5 separate regions of the Homo sapiens genome follow, and all the other regions are linked to region 3. Evidence: promoter capture Hi-C in 16 types of primary human blood cells and fetal thymus (Javierre and others, 2016). All regions are on one chromosome and are shown on one strand. The core of a region is centred on a gene start or on the middle of the fragment in contact, and the rest is flanking DNA. Distances in the headings are between cores, read along the strand shown. Region 1 has its middle 3.1 kb from the start of IL5. Region 2 holds the start of IRF1 (interferon regulatory factor 1). Region 3 holds the start of SHROOM1 (shroom family member 1). Region 4 overlaps SLC22A5 (solute carrier family 22 member 5). Region 5 overlaps MIR3936HG (MIR3936 host gene).

Evidence for each region. Contacts are between HindIII fragments. The CHiCAGO score rates a contact against its expected background, and 5 or more counts as called.
Region 1: a fragment that was not itself captured here is called in contact with the fragment with the promoter of SHROOM1 in region 3 in 2 of 17 cell types (fetal thymus and endothelial precursors); the score reaches 5.5 in fetal thymus.
Region 2: a contact is called between the fragment with the promoter of IRF1 here and the fragment with the promoter of SHROOM1 in region 3, in 1 of 17 cell types (monocytes). The highest score is 9.5, in monocytes.
Region 4: a contact is called between a fragment that was not itself captured here and the fragment with the promoter of SHROOM1 in region 3, in 10 of 17 cell types (neutrophils, naive CD4 T cells, M0 macrophages and 7 more). The highest score is 8.0, in neutrophils.
Region 5: a fragment that was not itself captured here is called in contact with the fragment with the promoter of SHROOM1 in region 3 in 1 of 17 cell types (neutrophils); the score reaches 6.1 in neutrophils.

What each region holds. Positions count from the first base shown.
Region 1 is chr5:132,545,233-132,547,932 of GRCh38, forward strand. It overlaps a transcript of IL5 not described here. Among named protein-coding and RNA genes, the nearest start is that of IL5, 3.1 kb to the left of the region's middle. The HindIII fragment of the contact is 4,642 bases long and covers 1-2,700 here.
Region 2 is chr5:132,489,445-132,492,144 of GRCh38, forward strand. IRF1 (interferon regulatory factor 1) reads right to left here and starts at 1,329. Exons shown (of 10, transcript NM_002198.3): 1 at 1,101-1,329; 2 at 1-39. The coding sequence starts at 34. RefSeq lists silencers at 161-210, 741-1,020, 1,281-1,730 and enhancers at 202-849, 1,871-2,010, 2,144-2,700, 2,281-2,490, 2,531-2,580. The HindIII fragment of the contact is 1,939 bases long and covers 1-1,819 here.
Region 3 is chr5:132,829,284-132,831,983 of GRCh38, forward strand. SHROOM1 (shroom family member 1) reads right to left here and starts at 1,364. Exons shown (of 10, transcript NM_001172700.2): 1 at 1,311-1,364. RefSeq lists silencers at 733-1,042, 1,253-1,672. The HindIII fragment of the contact is 14,647 bases long and covers 1-2,700 here.
Region 4 is chr5:132,376,494-132,379,261 of GRCh38, forward strand. It overlaps SLC22A5 (solute carrier family 22 member 5), which reads left to right. Exons shown (of 10, transcript NM_003060.4): 2 at 1,885-1,988. Among named protein-coding and RNA genes, the nearest start is that of MIR3936HG, 8.0 kb to the left of the region's middle. RefSeq lists an enhancer at 110-611. The HindIII fragment of the contact is 2,318 bases long and covers 279-2,596 here.
Region 5 is chr5:132,355,664-132,358,363 of GRCh38, forward strand. The region is part of intron 4 of MIR3936HG (MIR3936 host gene); the gene reads right to left. Among named protein-coding and RNA genes, the nearest start is that of MIR3936, 8.6 kb to the right of the region's middle. RefSeq lists an enhancer at 2,611-2,660. The HindIII fragment of the contact is 2,636 bases long and covers 1-2,577 here.

The sequences.
Region 1 (2,700 bases), core at 127-2,626, 280 kb before region 3:
TCTGATTCCCCCTGACACCTTTATGTTACACTGAGGAAGTTAGGGCTTAGGTGAAAGTTTCAGGGGAATTGCCAAATAACTTGTTATTTTAGTACCTTAAATACACAAAGTTCTGAGTGCTTAAATTCTATCATAGGAGGCTGGGCAAGGTGGCTCATGCTTGTAATCCCAGCACTTTGGGAGGCTGAAGCAGAAGGATTGCTTGAGCCCAGGAGTTTGAGACCAGCCCAGGCAACATAGTGAGACTCCATCTCTAGAAAAAATAAAAAATTGGGCTAAACACAGTGGCTCACGCCTGTAATCCCAGCACTTTGGTAAGCCCAGGCAGTGGATCCCTTGAGCCCAGGAGTTCAAGACCAGTGAGTGAAATGGGCAGGGTGTAATACATCAAAGCTGGTGGGGGTCACATGAAACTATAGCATGCATGATCTGTCTAAAGGTGGCAGGTGCTGCTCAGCTCCAGCTGATGGTTGCCAGGTGACACACCTGGGCTCACATTACCCGATCATTCTGTTTTTCAAAGAAGCCTTTATAAAAATTAGCCAGGCGTGGTGGTGTGTGCCTGTAATCCCAGTTACTCGGGAGGCTGAGGCAGGAGAATTGCTTGAACTCAGGAGGCGGAGGTTGCAGTGAGCTGAGGTTGCACCACTGCACTCCAGCCTGCGCAAGAGAGTGAGACTGTCTCAAAACAAACAAACAAACAAAAAAACAAAAAGCACAACAACAACAACAACAACAAAAAAGGAAGGCTGAAATCCTGCTTATTATATATAATCTCTGGATTTTTCAAATGTTGGCAACTGTATAATGTACCATTTTGCAGCCTCTGTTTTACAGCAAAACTGTGGGTTCTTATTGGAAGGCTAGTTATAAAAAATACTTCTTATTCAAAATTGTATTTCTTTTAGAAATGTTTAATTGTGGCAAAATACACATAAAATTTACTATCTTAACCATTTTTTTAAGTGTACAGCTCAGTAGCCTTAAGTACATTCATAATGTTGTGTGACAAATCTCCAGGACTCTTTTCATCTTGCAAAACTGAAACTCTGTACCCATTAAACAACAGCTCCCAACCCCCGCCCCCATTCTCCCAGCACCTTGCAACCACGCTTCTACTTTCTGTCTTTATGAATTTGATGACTTTAGGTACCTGATATACAGTACTTGGCTTTTTGTGACTGGCTTATATCATTTAGCATAATGTCTATTCTCAAGATTCATCCATGTTGTAGCATGTGTCAATTTTCTTCCTTTTTAAGGCTGAATAATATTTCATTGGATGTCTATACCATGTTTTGTTTATCCATGGTCTGTCGATGGACACCAATGTTGCTTCCATCCTTTGGCTATTGTGAATAATGCTGCTATGAACATGGGTGTACAAAATTAAATTTCTTATAAAGTTTTCGTGTCATTAACTTTTCCTCTATAAGTGTGATCTCCCCAACCTGACTGTAAACTGTCTCGGAGTTGGACCTGTAAAATAATGTATTTGAAAGAGCTTTATTGGCCAGGCATGGTGGCTCACACCTGTAATCTCAGCACTTTGGGAGGCTGAGGCGGGCAGATCACGAGGTCAGGAGATCGAGACCATCCTGGCTAACACAGTGAAACCCCATCTCCACTAAAAATACAAAAAAATTAGCTGGGCATGGTGGCCGGCACCTGTAGTCCCAGCTACTCAGGAGGCTGAGGCAGGAGAATGGCGTGAACCTGGGAGGTGGATGTTGCAGTGAGCTGAGATCACGCCACTGCACGCCAGCCTGGGCAACAGAGCGAGACTCCATCTCAAAAAAAAGAAAGAGCTTTATTAATGCAAAACTCCAAATAAAAGTTAATGATTTTAATCTCCTGTGCCCAAGAATTCAAAATAATGTATGTAGCTACTACACCCTCAAGGAGATGGAACACAACCCCCTTTCATTAAGAGTGGGATATACAGAGTGACTTTTTAAAAAAGAGAACTGTATGGAAAGGGGAGAATAAGAGGAATAACTTCACAGTGGAGAAACCTGATCAAACACTACTTCAGCTAGGTGATCCCAGTCAATGGTGGCAGTGAAACATCATGTTAACAGCATGTACCTTTGATTTGATGTGATAAGAAAGGAACTTTATCCCTGTCATCTTCCTCCCCAAAACCAGTAACCTCTGCCTAACCATGACACAAACACTACACATACCCAAATGGAAAGACAAAATGCCTGACCAGTACTCCTTAAAACTGTTAAGGTCATCAAAAACAAGCACAGTCTGAGAAACTGACACAGCCAGAGAGGCCTCTAAGAGACGTGATGACTACATACAATGTGGTATCATGGATGACACTCAGGAACAGAATAAGGACAACGGGCACAACTAAGGGAATTGGAAAAAGCCTGGAGTTTAGTAATGTACCAATATTAGTTCCTTAGTTGTGACAATTGTACCATAGTAATGTTAACAATGGGAAACTGGGTGCAGGGCACACTGGAATGCTCTCTAACAGTCTTGAAACTTCTCTATAAATCTAAAACTACTTAAAATAAAAAGTGTATTAAAAATAATACTGCGGCGAGGCATGATGGGTCAGGTCTGTAACCCCAGCACTTTGGGAGGCTGAGGTGGGTGGATTGGTTGAAGTCAGCAGTTCGAGACCAGCCTGGCCAATATGGTGAAACCCTGTTTCTACTAAAATACAAAAATTAGCTAGGCTTG
Region 2 (2,700 bases), core at 79-2,578, 340 kb before region 3:
GCCAGGGTCTCATGCGCATCCGAGTGATGGGCATGTTGGCTGTAAAGAGAACACAGAGGCTCCAGTCTGGAATCTGTTGAACAGTACCTGGGCAGTGACCTGCCCCACCCGAGGTCACTTAGTTACCCTCCCCTCACCTCAGCCAGCTGCTAGGTACTACACTCAGTGCGGAGGGGAGCTGCGCTGGAATAAAACTGCTCTCCAAATTTTTTCAGCATCTTAGGCAAAAATGCTTTTGCCCCTTCCTTCAGCCCCTCCCAGCCAGTCTCTGGAGGAGACAGGCATGCAAGTGATGGCTTCAGGATTCATATGCAGGAAAAGAGACAAAATGCACAGATACCCTAATTTCAGAACTTTTCGCTCAAAATTCAAATCCTTTGGGAAGGGAGGGACTTCTTTTGCTTGATGCCAAGAAGAAATTCCCTTGACTTGAGTTGTAACCACTAGCTAGCAAAGGGCTAGCCGTCACCCTGAACAGCCCCCTCCCGCCCCCCTGAATCCATTCTACGCCTTCCTGACAGCCACAGCGCCCACAACGCTAAGACCAGGACGCTAACCCTTCCGGCCCGGTTTCCCCTCCTCTGGAGAAGTGGCCCAAGGAACACCTGTGGCGCCTCTTCCCGCAGTCTCCGTAGGTCACGATTCCCTCCAGCCACCTGGGCAGTAAGCCAGCCCTTGCCACCAGCACAGGGAGCCCAAAACCTGTCGCCTGGGCGCGGAGCTGGGACCGCCGAAAGCCGGGAGCACTGGGCGCCCACGCGTGGGCTGACACTCGGTCCCCGGCACGGCGTGTGGATGCGCGGGACGAACATAGCGGGCCACCTACAGGCCCCTGGCGGCTGCGCGCACGCAGATCTGCGAAAGCTGCCGGGCGCCGGCAGCCTCGTCCGGGTGGGCGGTCCACGCCGCGTCCCGCCCTCCCCGCGCCGCGGCCCGCGGCTCGCAGCTCCTCCGGCGCCCCCCGGAGCCCGCGCGGAGGCCCGGGCAACGCCGCGCGCCGGCGAGTCTCCAGCCTGGAGCTTTCGACCCCCCACTTCCTGGTGCCCCGCGCGCCTTTTATTCGACGCCGCCGGTGCCCCGCGCCTCAAAGGCGTACTCACCTCTGCTGCAGGAGCGATTCGGCGGTCGCGCGCGAGGGTCCCGGCGACGCAGGGGCTGCAGTGAGGGCGCGCGGAGCGCGACTCCGAGTGGAAGAGGGAAGAAGGCAGAGGTTGCCGGGTTCTTAAGGCCGCCGGGCACGGCCGGCGTGGACTGGGCACGGCTCCGGGTGGCCTCGGTTCGGCGGGGCTCGGGCGCACGTCTTGCCTCGACTAAGGAGTGGCGAGCTCTGCCAGGGCAGCGGCGCCACCGAGCAATCCAAACACTTAGCGGGATTCCCCAGCCCTGGCCGGCCCCGCCCCCGGACAGCCGCGCGGGCGCCCATTGGCCGGCTGCGTGCCGTCATTTCGGGGAAATCAGGCTGTTGTAGAGCTAGCGGCGAAGGGGAAGTACAGGGCGGCTGCTCCGCCCCACCCTCTCCGGCCGGGCGCCACCGCCCCGGGGCCACCGCGGGCCCGCCCCGAGCGCTCCCAATCCACCCCTGCTCCGGCTTGCCCGGAGGAGGGCTGCCCGGGACAGCCCAGCGCCCCTGGCCCCAGCCTGTCCTCTCACTCCGCCTTGTCCCAGCCGGCTGGCTCCTGGGGCCATCTTTTCACCCTCCTGGCGGGGCGGGGGCGGGGGTATATCTCCCGAACGCAGGTGAGGGGATCGCCCGGGCACTTGCCGCCCTCTCCAGTGGGAACACTGGGCCGAATCTCCCGACTGGCAGCCTGGCTCCTCAAGCTTGCCAGTGGGATATCAAGAAGGGAGGGTTTCAGTCCTAGCACTACCCCTGTTTTTAGGGGTGACCCCCTCCCTCCAGGTCACTCACCTGCCCTGGGGAAGTGAAGAAGGCAGAAAGCCTACCCTGCCCCGTGTGCTGTCTGGGGCTGCTGGACCAGGGGAAATCCCAACTTGGCCGCTGCTGGCACAGCCCCCAAGGGACGCAGGACCTCTGTTTTTCAACCATAAAATAATAGTAGCCCTACCTTGATGGTTTGCTGTGATGGGAAGAGATTGTAAAGCACTATGCTCCACTCGGGCAACAGACGCTGAGTAGTTTTCAAGGTCGCCGTTGCAGGGTCTAATAGTGACCAGGATGACACCCCACCCCTTTTCGGTCTGCCTCCCTGGGACTCCCCCTGGCTGGCTTTAGGGAACAGAGGAGGAGAAGGGGTTCAGAGAAGCCCAGACGGCTGAGTGAGGGTAGGGGTGGGCTAGCTCTGATCCCTCCTAGCACTCTTGCCTCAGGCCGCCTCCAGAGCCTCCCTGTGGCCCGCGTATGGGAGTTCCGCAATGGAAGCATTGCTGTCATCTCTGAGTCCCCAGGGCTTGGCCCAGAGAGGTTCTGGGCAGCATGGAGGAATTAGCTCAGGGCTGATCAACGCCATGGGGCTAGCCAAAGGGTTGGGGAGCCCAGGTCCCATGCTCCTTGGTAAGGCCCCTACTTAACTCTCGCGCACAACTAGTCCCCGCCCCACGTATAGTCCTAGAGACTTGACTGGGTGTTCATTTTCCATCCAAAACTCTGGCCCAGGAGGCTTCTTCCTTCATCTCCCTAAAGCTCCTGCAGAAGTAAGTTACTCTCCCAGGCGTGTCATTTCCTTCACCCCAGCTCTCCCT
Region 3 (2,700 bases), core at 114-2,613:
AGGTGGAGGCACCAGTCTGAAAGGAGGAGCTGGGGCTGAGGAATTGTCAAGGGGGCCAGTGCTCCTTCAGTCTGGGCTTCATGGTGTCTGTGACAAGTCAGGCAGCAGTTGGGATGTGGCTCTGGAGTTCAGCAGGGGAGGGTAGACCAGGCAAGACCCAGGTTTTTAGTTAGAGGTTACTGGGGAAATAGCTGAAGACAGTTTCCGGTGGATAAAATCACACCAAGGCAATGGGAACAGATCCAAGTAAGGCGACCGAGGAGGCACAGGAGAACGGACAGCCTCAAATACAACGAATGATCAGGATTTACATCATACCTCCCTCAAGGCCACCTCACATCTGACCTCTCTGTGGAGGGGCTATCCAGGCCGCCCCTCCCAGCGGGTCTTCCCTCAGTACTGGGCTCACTGTGTAGGCGCTGTCTCCCTGTCAGACTGAGTTCCTGGGTACTGGACCACGTCTCAAAACCCAGTACCCGCAGCTGGGTCTGGCTAGGCGGACGTTCTGGGAAGTTCACCGGCTCTCCCTGTCCCCAGCGTCCCCCGTTCTCCCAGCCTGTCCGCGCTGACAGCGCACCCCACGCAGCATCCACGCTCCGAGTGTGCGACTGGTTTACGGGCTCATCGGTCGCTGCACCCCAGATGCAGAGTCTCTGGAGACCCGAGCTCCGTGCCATGCACAGGAAATGCAGGAAGCTGGCGACACCCGGGGAGAGGCGGCCGCGGGCGTGGACAGACCCGGTTACCTGGGGTTCAATCTCTGGGAGCCGAGGCACGGGAGGGAGAGAGGCGCAGGCCCCGGCGGCCGCAGGGGGCGGCAGAGACACGCGGAGCGGCTCGACAGCAGATGGCCGCAGCCCCGCGCAGTTCTGGGCCTTTCCCGTTGGGTTCACCGTCGGGGAAGGATCGCGCGCAGGGGACAGCGCGAGCCCGGGAGGGAAGGACCCGGCTTCTCCAGATGCTTGGCGACAAAGGGCAGGAGCGGAGGGTGGCGGAGTGAGACCGCGCTGCCCGCCGGCGCCACACGCGGCGCGCCCAGCCGCGCCCCTGAGCCGCGCCGCCAGCTTAGAGTGGGCCGCCTCTCCGCCCTGCAGCTCTGCAGCTGGGAGAGGCGCGCTGGGGTCCGACTCCACTGGCGCAACCTGACGCGGCGCCGAGCCAGACACGTCCCGGCCGAACGATGCCCGGGCTGCCCCGCGACCACCGCCTCGCCGCCCGCTCTTCACCCCCGTCCGCCCGCAGCCCCGCCGGCCTCCCGGGGGAAGCGGACCCAGCCGCCCGCTTCCCGCTCCCCCGCCCCCGCCGCGTACCTGAGGCTCCCGCCGAGACGCGCTCCTGGGCCGTCGCAGCCGCGCGGTGACATCAGAGCCCCGGGCTCTGACTCCGACCCCACCTCCAGGCTCCGGCCGCGGCCTCAGGGGAGGCGCCACGTCCGGCCGCGGGGGCGGGAGCCGCAGCCTCTTGGTAGCGTCCGCGCGCCGGCCCAGTCCCAGGTCTGAGGGTGGACAGTGCGTTCCCGCGCGGGCCACAGGCCTCTTGCCCCAGGCCGGAGAAACCTGAGCGAGGTGGTGGGAGGGCGACTACGGCGACCGCCCACCGGCCTCCAGCGCGTCCGTGATGCTCGGGGGCCGGGTCCCTCGGGGCCTGACACCTCCCTCGGTGGGGAGGTCCAGGGCGGGCCCTTAGGCGCCTGACGGCTACCCGCTTTCCCCCCCAAGCCCGGCCAAGAAAACAGAGCTGCCAGGGCCTCGTGCCTCCCACCTGTCCCGCTGAGTAACTCGGCCCTTGATCAACTCTACCCCCAGACCCCCATTTCCAAAACTCTTCCAGCTCTTTGACTCCCACCATGGGCTCTTGTCTCCTGTTCCCTGTCCCATTTCTTTCCATTTCTCCCACTACCCAGCATGGTCTGGGCCCTCCAGCCTGCTACCGGGGTGGGGGAGAGGGGGGCGGAGCACGGGGAAGCCCCTGGACTTGTGTGCACCTTAGCTGTCCTGAGTGTGTCCTTAGGGAGCTGGACATATGCATACCCACTAAGGCTGGACACTGGCGCTCGAGGCCCTCACCTTCCAGGATCTCCATTTTCCAAAGAACGCTCTGCCTGCACCTGCCACTGAGCTCTCCTTGCTGTGTCCTCAGGCTCCCCTGCCCCGACTTCCCAAACTCTGTCCTATGAATACCACTCTGCCAAGAAATGCTCCGTTCCTGAGAGGGGCTGGGGACCCTTTGATGAGCCTCTCCGGCTCTCAGGTCTCTGCCTTTGTCCTCCGCTGCCCTCCCGCTCCCACAGGATCAACAGGGCTGGGCTCAGGGGCTGTGTCCTCCCATGGTAGTATCCCTGGCAAATAAAGGTTTATTGGTGTTAATAACCAGGACTCTGAACTCTGGCCAAGAGTCAAGGTTGCCACTTCCTAGGGACACTGGGAGCCTGAGGAACTCTGTCTTCTTGGGTCTTCTTGGGTTCGGAGGCAGGAGACACCTGAGCCCGACTTCTGAGAGTGGTGCCCGCTGGGCCCTGCTCCTTCTTCAACACCATCTGGACTCAGGCACCAGCTTCAGCTGGAGCGCTAGGCTTTAAGACAGTGCCTAAGAACCTTTCGGCTTTGAAAGACTTTTGTTGTTTGTTTTGCTTTTTTGAGACAGAGTCTCCCTCTGTCGCCCAGGCTGGAGTGCAGTGGCCGGATCTCTGCTCACTGAAAC
Region 4 (2,768 bases), core at 188-2,687, 450 kb before region 3:
GTCACACCCAACCTTGCCAGCCAAGGAGTCTTTAGAAGCCTGATATTGGGAGACCTGTCCTGGGGTCTACAACCCCAGAACTCACTGCAGAAGCCCACGTGGATTGCTAGTCTAGCTCAGCCATATGGGTCCCCAACCCTCACCTCATGATAGTCCTGTGAGAAACCGCTGCTGACCCTTTGTTCATGTTTTCATCTTTTCCACTATAAAAGACATGCTAGCTGGGAAATAGAGCCCATCATACTCAAGAGTGGCAGGAGCCAGGTCCTGGCCCCTGAAGCTTGGCCTCACACACAGAGGCCGGCACCCTGTCATCAATTCCCTCAGCTTTTTCTCCGCCTCCACTCCCAGTCCTAGATTTAGCAGCCATGTGTGGGTGGGGGCCACTGCAGGGATACTTACCCACCTACCAGAGAGATGGCCTGTGGGTGCTGGCCCTTCTGAGGCTGTGGAGGTTGGAGGCTGTGGCAGCCTGGGCAGTCAGGCTGTGGTCCTCCCATGTTCTTGACTCCTGCTAGTCTGGGCTGCCTCCTGATTAGGGGTTGGATGCTCCAGTTCTTCCCTGGGTTGGGGATTGCCACCCTACTCCCAGCCCATCCAGGTTCACGCTTATTCCAAAGCGGAGCACCAGCAGTGTGCCTGCTGCGGGAGTTCTCCGTGTCCAGCCTGAGGGTTGCCTGCCAACCCCTCTGAGAGGTGCCCGGAGGCTGTGCGCCCACACTGCCCAGCAGTGCGGAGAAGCAGGCTTGTTTTTCCCTGTCACTGGCTTGGAAGAGATGCTTTGTTCTAGGGAGCCGCATGTCCCCTTGCCTGCGTTGTTGGTGAGGAGCCAGCAGGCTCCGTGGAGGGCAGGCTAGCAGCCTGGCACCAGGGAGGCAAGGGTCTGAGTTCCTAGGAGGGTGGTTGCTCATGTGAGAAGTCTGCAAAGGTTACTACTGAGCACCATCTCTCTGTCTGAAAAACATTTTTCATTTTTCTGTGAACCACTAAGTTTCCCGTTTGGGCTTTCTTCCTGCTTTTGGCTCTTGTTTAGGCAGGCGCAGCCAGATCCAAGCGTCTGGCTGCTTCCCCATGTCTTCAGACCTCTTTTTCTGTTCATGGTAACTATAGATGGAACCACACATTGGAAGCTGGAAACTCAAGCGGTGCAGCCTATTCCTTACCCCAATCCCTGTTTTACAAATGGGGAAATCAAGGCACAGCATGGGGTGATGCTTATCTGAGGTTGGAAGAGTTTTAATAGTAGAGTGGGAGCTAAAACCCAGTTTCTTACCTCCAAGCTCAGGACTTTCAGCTGTAATTGAGCCTAGTATAGTTGGTGTGCAGCATCAGGGATTCCAGCTCTAAAGGTCACAAAAAGGACCCGGGGGTCATTGGCCCAGGGTGGGAACCCGAGCAGAGCAGGTCCAGATGGTGCACTCTGTGCCCTGGCCTTAGTTTCTTGCTGGATGCTTTGGCCCGTAGAGCCCCAGAGCCCTGCTTCCAGAACCACTCCAGTGACGTTCATGCCAATGGCCTGAACCCCACTGAGCGAGGGTGCCCTGCCTCTTCCACAGCCCTGGGCTCCGCTCAGATTTTTAGGAGCAAGCGTTAGAGGCCTTGCTTTCTCCAGGGTCAGCATGTGGACAGAACACTTACTCTCTGCCTGTCTCTCCTCCTCAAAATGGAAGCAAGACAGTGGGGCCTACAATGCTATGAAAAACAGGATGGGAAAGAAGCCTGCTCTCTGCCTTCCTGCCCAGGTGAGCCATCACCTGACTAAGTGAGTTCACACTCAGAGCGTGTGGGGATGGCAGGATGTTCTGACTTCATTTTCCAGGATGCCTTTGCTTTAAAACCTTTTAAAAAGAAGTGAATGATACACCCCCTTTGCTCATCTTGCAGTGGAACCTGGTGTGTGAGGACGACTGGAAGGCCCCACTCACAATCTCCTTGTTCTTCGTGGGTGTGCTGTTGGGCTCCTTCATTTCAGGGCAGCTGTCAGACAGGTAAGGTGTCTGTCTTCTGGAGCACCAGGGGACCTCAGCACTGAGGAAGAAGCGTGTGCCTGGCCCTTGATTTCAGTTGGTAGTATTCTTTCAGCGCAGGGCCCTGTATTTTAAAGAAGAGGAAGCTATGTCTGTGATATAGACTCCATGCCTAGTAAGAAGAGCCAACAAATCTGACTCCGTAATTCTTGCTAAGTAAAGAAACCTGAGCTGTCTAAGCTGAATGTATCTGTGACCCGGTTGACTAGGTAATATGCCATGATTCACTTCTGCAGTAGCCTGGCTTGCCTCCCCTGGGTCACTGTGACTCTGTCATGCCCCTGAGCATGGGAGAGGTTGACATCATGCACACATGCACATGTGCTAGATTGTAGATCTGTAGTAGTGCCACGGTGTCTGCCTCTGTAGTCCCAAGAAGACCAGCATTCTCTCTGCAAAGTGAAAGGAGCTCTCACCAGCCACTAGTGGTATGAAAAGCAGAACTCTTTTGTCCACAAGGCTGATGCCCCTTAGCTAAGTGGCCTGTGGTTTTGGCATTTACTTTATGACAGGAGGGAGAATAGTGTTTTGATCCATTTCTTATAAGCAGGTTATTTGTATAATTCTAAAGCTTTTAACTCAAGGAAACATTAACGGCTTAGAGAATCCCAAACCCCTCGAAATTATATGCACAATGTTAGAGACTACATGTGAGCATTTTTTTGGAGAGAGGTCCGTAGCTTTCATGAAGTTCTTAGAGGGGTCCATTATGTTGTGTCTTCTTTCCCTGGAGCTTCAGGG
Region 5 (2,700 bases), core at 10-2,509, 470 kb before region 3:
GGAGTCAAAGAAGATTACTTTGGAGCTTTACAATTTAATAATTGCCCTGCTGGGTTTTGAATTTGCATGGAGCTTGTAGCCCCTTTCTTTTGGCCAATTTCTCTTTTGGAATGGGCATGTTTACCCAATGCCTATACACCCATTGTAACTTGGAAGTATATAGCTTGTTTTTGATTTTATAGGCTCATAGGTGGAAGAGACTTGCCTTGTCTCAGATGAGACTTTGAATTTTGGGCTTTGGAGTTAACATTGGAATGAGTTAAGACTTTGGGGAACTCTTGGGAAGGCATGATTGTATTTTGCAACTTGAGAAGGACATGAGATTTAGGAGGGCCAGGGGCAAAATGACATAGTCTGGATATTTATCCCTGTCCAAATCGCATGTGGAAATGTAATCTCTAATGTTGGAGGTGGGGCCTGCTGGGAGGTGTTTTGGTCATGGGGGCAGATCCCTCATGGCTTGGAGCTGTCCCCACCATAATAAGTGAGTTCTTGAGAAATCTGGTTGTTTAAGGGTGTGGCACCTCCCCCCACCTTGCTCCTGTCTTTACCATGTGACACACCTGCTCCCCCTTCACCTTCCACTGTGAGTAAAAGCTCCCTGAGGCCTCCCTAGAAGCTGAGCAGATGCCTAGTGCCACACTTCCTATACAGCCTGTGAAATCGTGAGTCAATTAAACCTCTTTTCTTAATAAATTACCCAGTCTCAGGTATTTCTTTATAGTAATGCAAGAATGGCCTAACACACACTGGTTCTACAAAAAAAAAAAAAAAAAAAAAAGGAAGAAAAAAATTAATTTAAAAAAATTAGCAGGGTGTGGTAGCATGTGCCTGTAATCCTAACTTCTTGGGAGGCTGAGTTGGGAGGATCCCTTGAGCCCAGGAGTTCGGGGTTGCAGAGTCATGATCATGCCACTGCACTCCAGCCTCGGGCACAGAGTGAGACCCTGTAGCTAAAAATATAAAATAATAAAATAAAACCAGTATATGAGTGTTAATCAAAGAATGAGTGAATAAATGAATGAATAAAGTGAGTTTTTAAAGCGTGAAAAATAGCCAGGTGTGATGGCTTATGCCTGTAACAACAGCACTTTGGGAGGCCAACACAGGAGGATCACCTGAAGCCAGGAGTTTGAGATCAGCCTACCAGCCTGGGCAACAGAGCAAGACTTCATCTCTTTAAAAAAAAAATAAACATATATACGTATGTAATGGCGGGGGGCTGGGGTGGTGGTGGGGAGGCATGAGAAAAAGACCAGAAGAAAGTAGGCTCAGCTGGGCACAGTGGTTCATGCCTGTAATCCCAACACTTTGGGAGGCCAACGTGGGCGGATCACCCAAAGTCAGGAGTTGGAGACCAACCTGGCCAATATGGTGAAACCCCCATCTCTACTAAAAATACAAAAAAATTAGCTGGGCATGGTGGCGTCTGTAGTCCCAGCTACTCAGAAGGCTGAGGCAGGAAAATCACTTGAACCTGGTTGCAGTGAGCCAAGATCACACCACTGCACTACAGCCTGGGCAAAAAGAGCAAAACTGTCTTAAAAAAAAAAAAAGGCCAGGCGCATTGGCTCACACCTGTAATCCTAGCACTTTGGAAGGCTGAGGCGGGCAGATCACATGAGGTCAGGAGTTTGAGACCAGCCTGGCCAACATGGCGAAACCCCATCTCTACTAAAAATACAAAAATTACCAGGGCATGGTGGTGGATGCCTGTAAGCCCAGCTACTTGGGAGGCTGAGGCAGGAGAACTGCTTGAACCTGGGAGGCAGAGGTTGCAGTGAGCCGAAATCATGCCATTGTACTCCAGCCTGGGCAACACAGCAAGACTCCATCTCAAAAAAAGGAAAAAAAGAAAGAACGTAGACTAAGGTATTAACAGTAGGTATGTTTGGATGGTCAGATTATAGATGACTTCTGTTTTATTTTTTCCAGATTTCCATACTTTACAAATGCTTCATATATTACTTTTATAATCATAAAGCAGTTAAAAAATAAAAACTTACTGAGTGTTGACTAAGTGCCAGGTCTTCAGAAGCATAGATGAAGAGCATGAAGAATGCAAATTCATGCATCAGGCTGGGCATGGTGGCTCAAGCCAGTAATCCCAGCCCTTTGGGAGGCCAAGGCAGGTGGATCACTTGAGGTCAGGAGCTCAAGACCATCCTGGCCAACACGGTGAAACCCTGTCTCTACTAAAAAAATACAAAATTTAGCCAGGCATGGTAGCGGGTGCCTGTAATCCCAGCTACTTGAGAGGCTGAGGCAGGAGAATCACTTGAACCAGGGAAGCGGAGGTTGCAGTGAGCCAAGATCACACCACTGCACTCTAGCCCGGGTGACAGAGTGAGACTCTGTCTCAAAAAAAAAAAAAAAAAATTCTTGCATCAGTGGGCTTAGTCTAGCCTGGTTATAAACTCCTGCTTGTGGCCTTAGCAACTTGCCCAGTGCTCCCCTGGGGCTTAGCCCTGTGGAGGCTGAAACCCAGGTCAAAGTCATGTTCTCCAATCCAGAGCTGGGTGTCTCTCTCACTTCCTTTGAGCAGCAATCACCTCTACCCTGATTTAGACCAAGCCAAGCTTGCTATGCTGAGGTAACTTAGCTTATCACCAAGGTTATATTTAACAGACTGCTGAAAGGATTATAAAAAATTATGGGGATTTGAACTATCACCCAATGCCTCCGTCTGTTGACACAGAC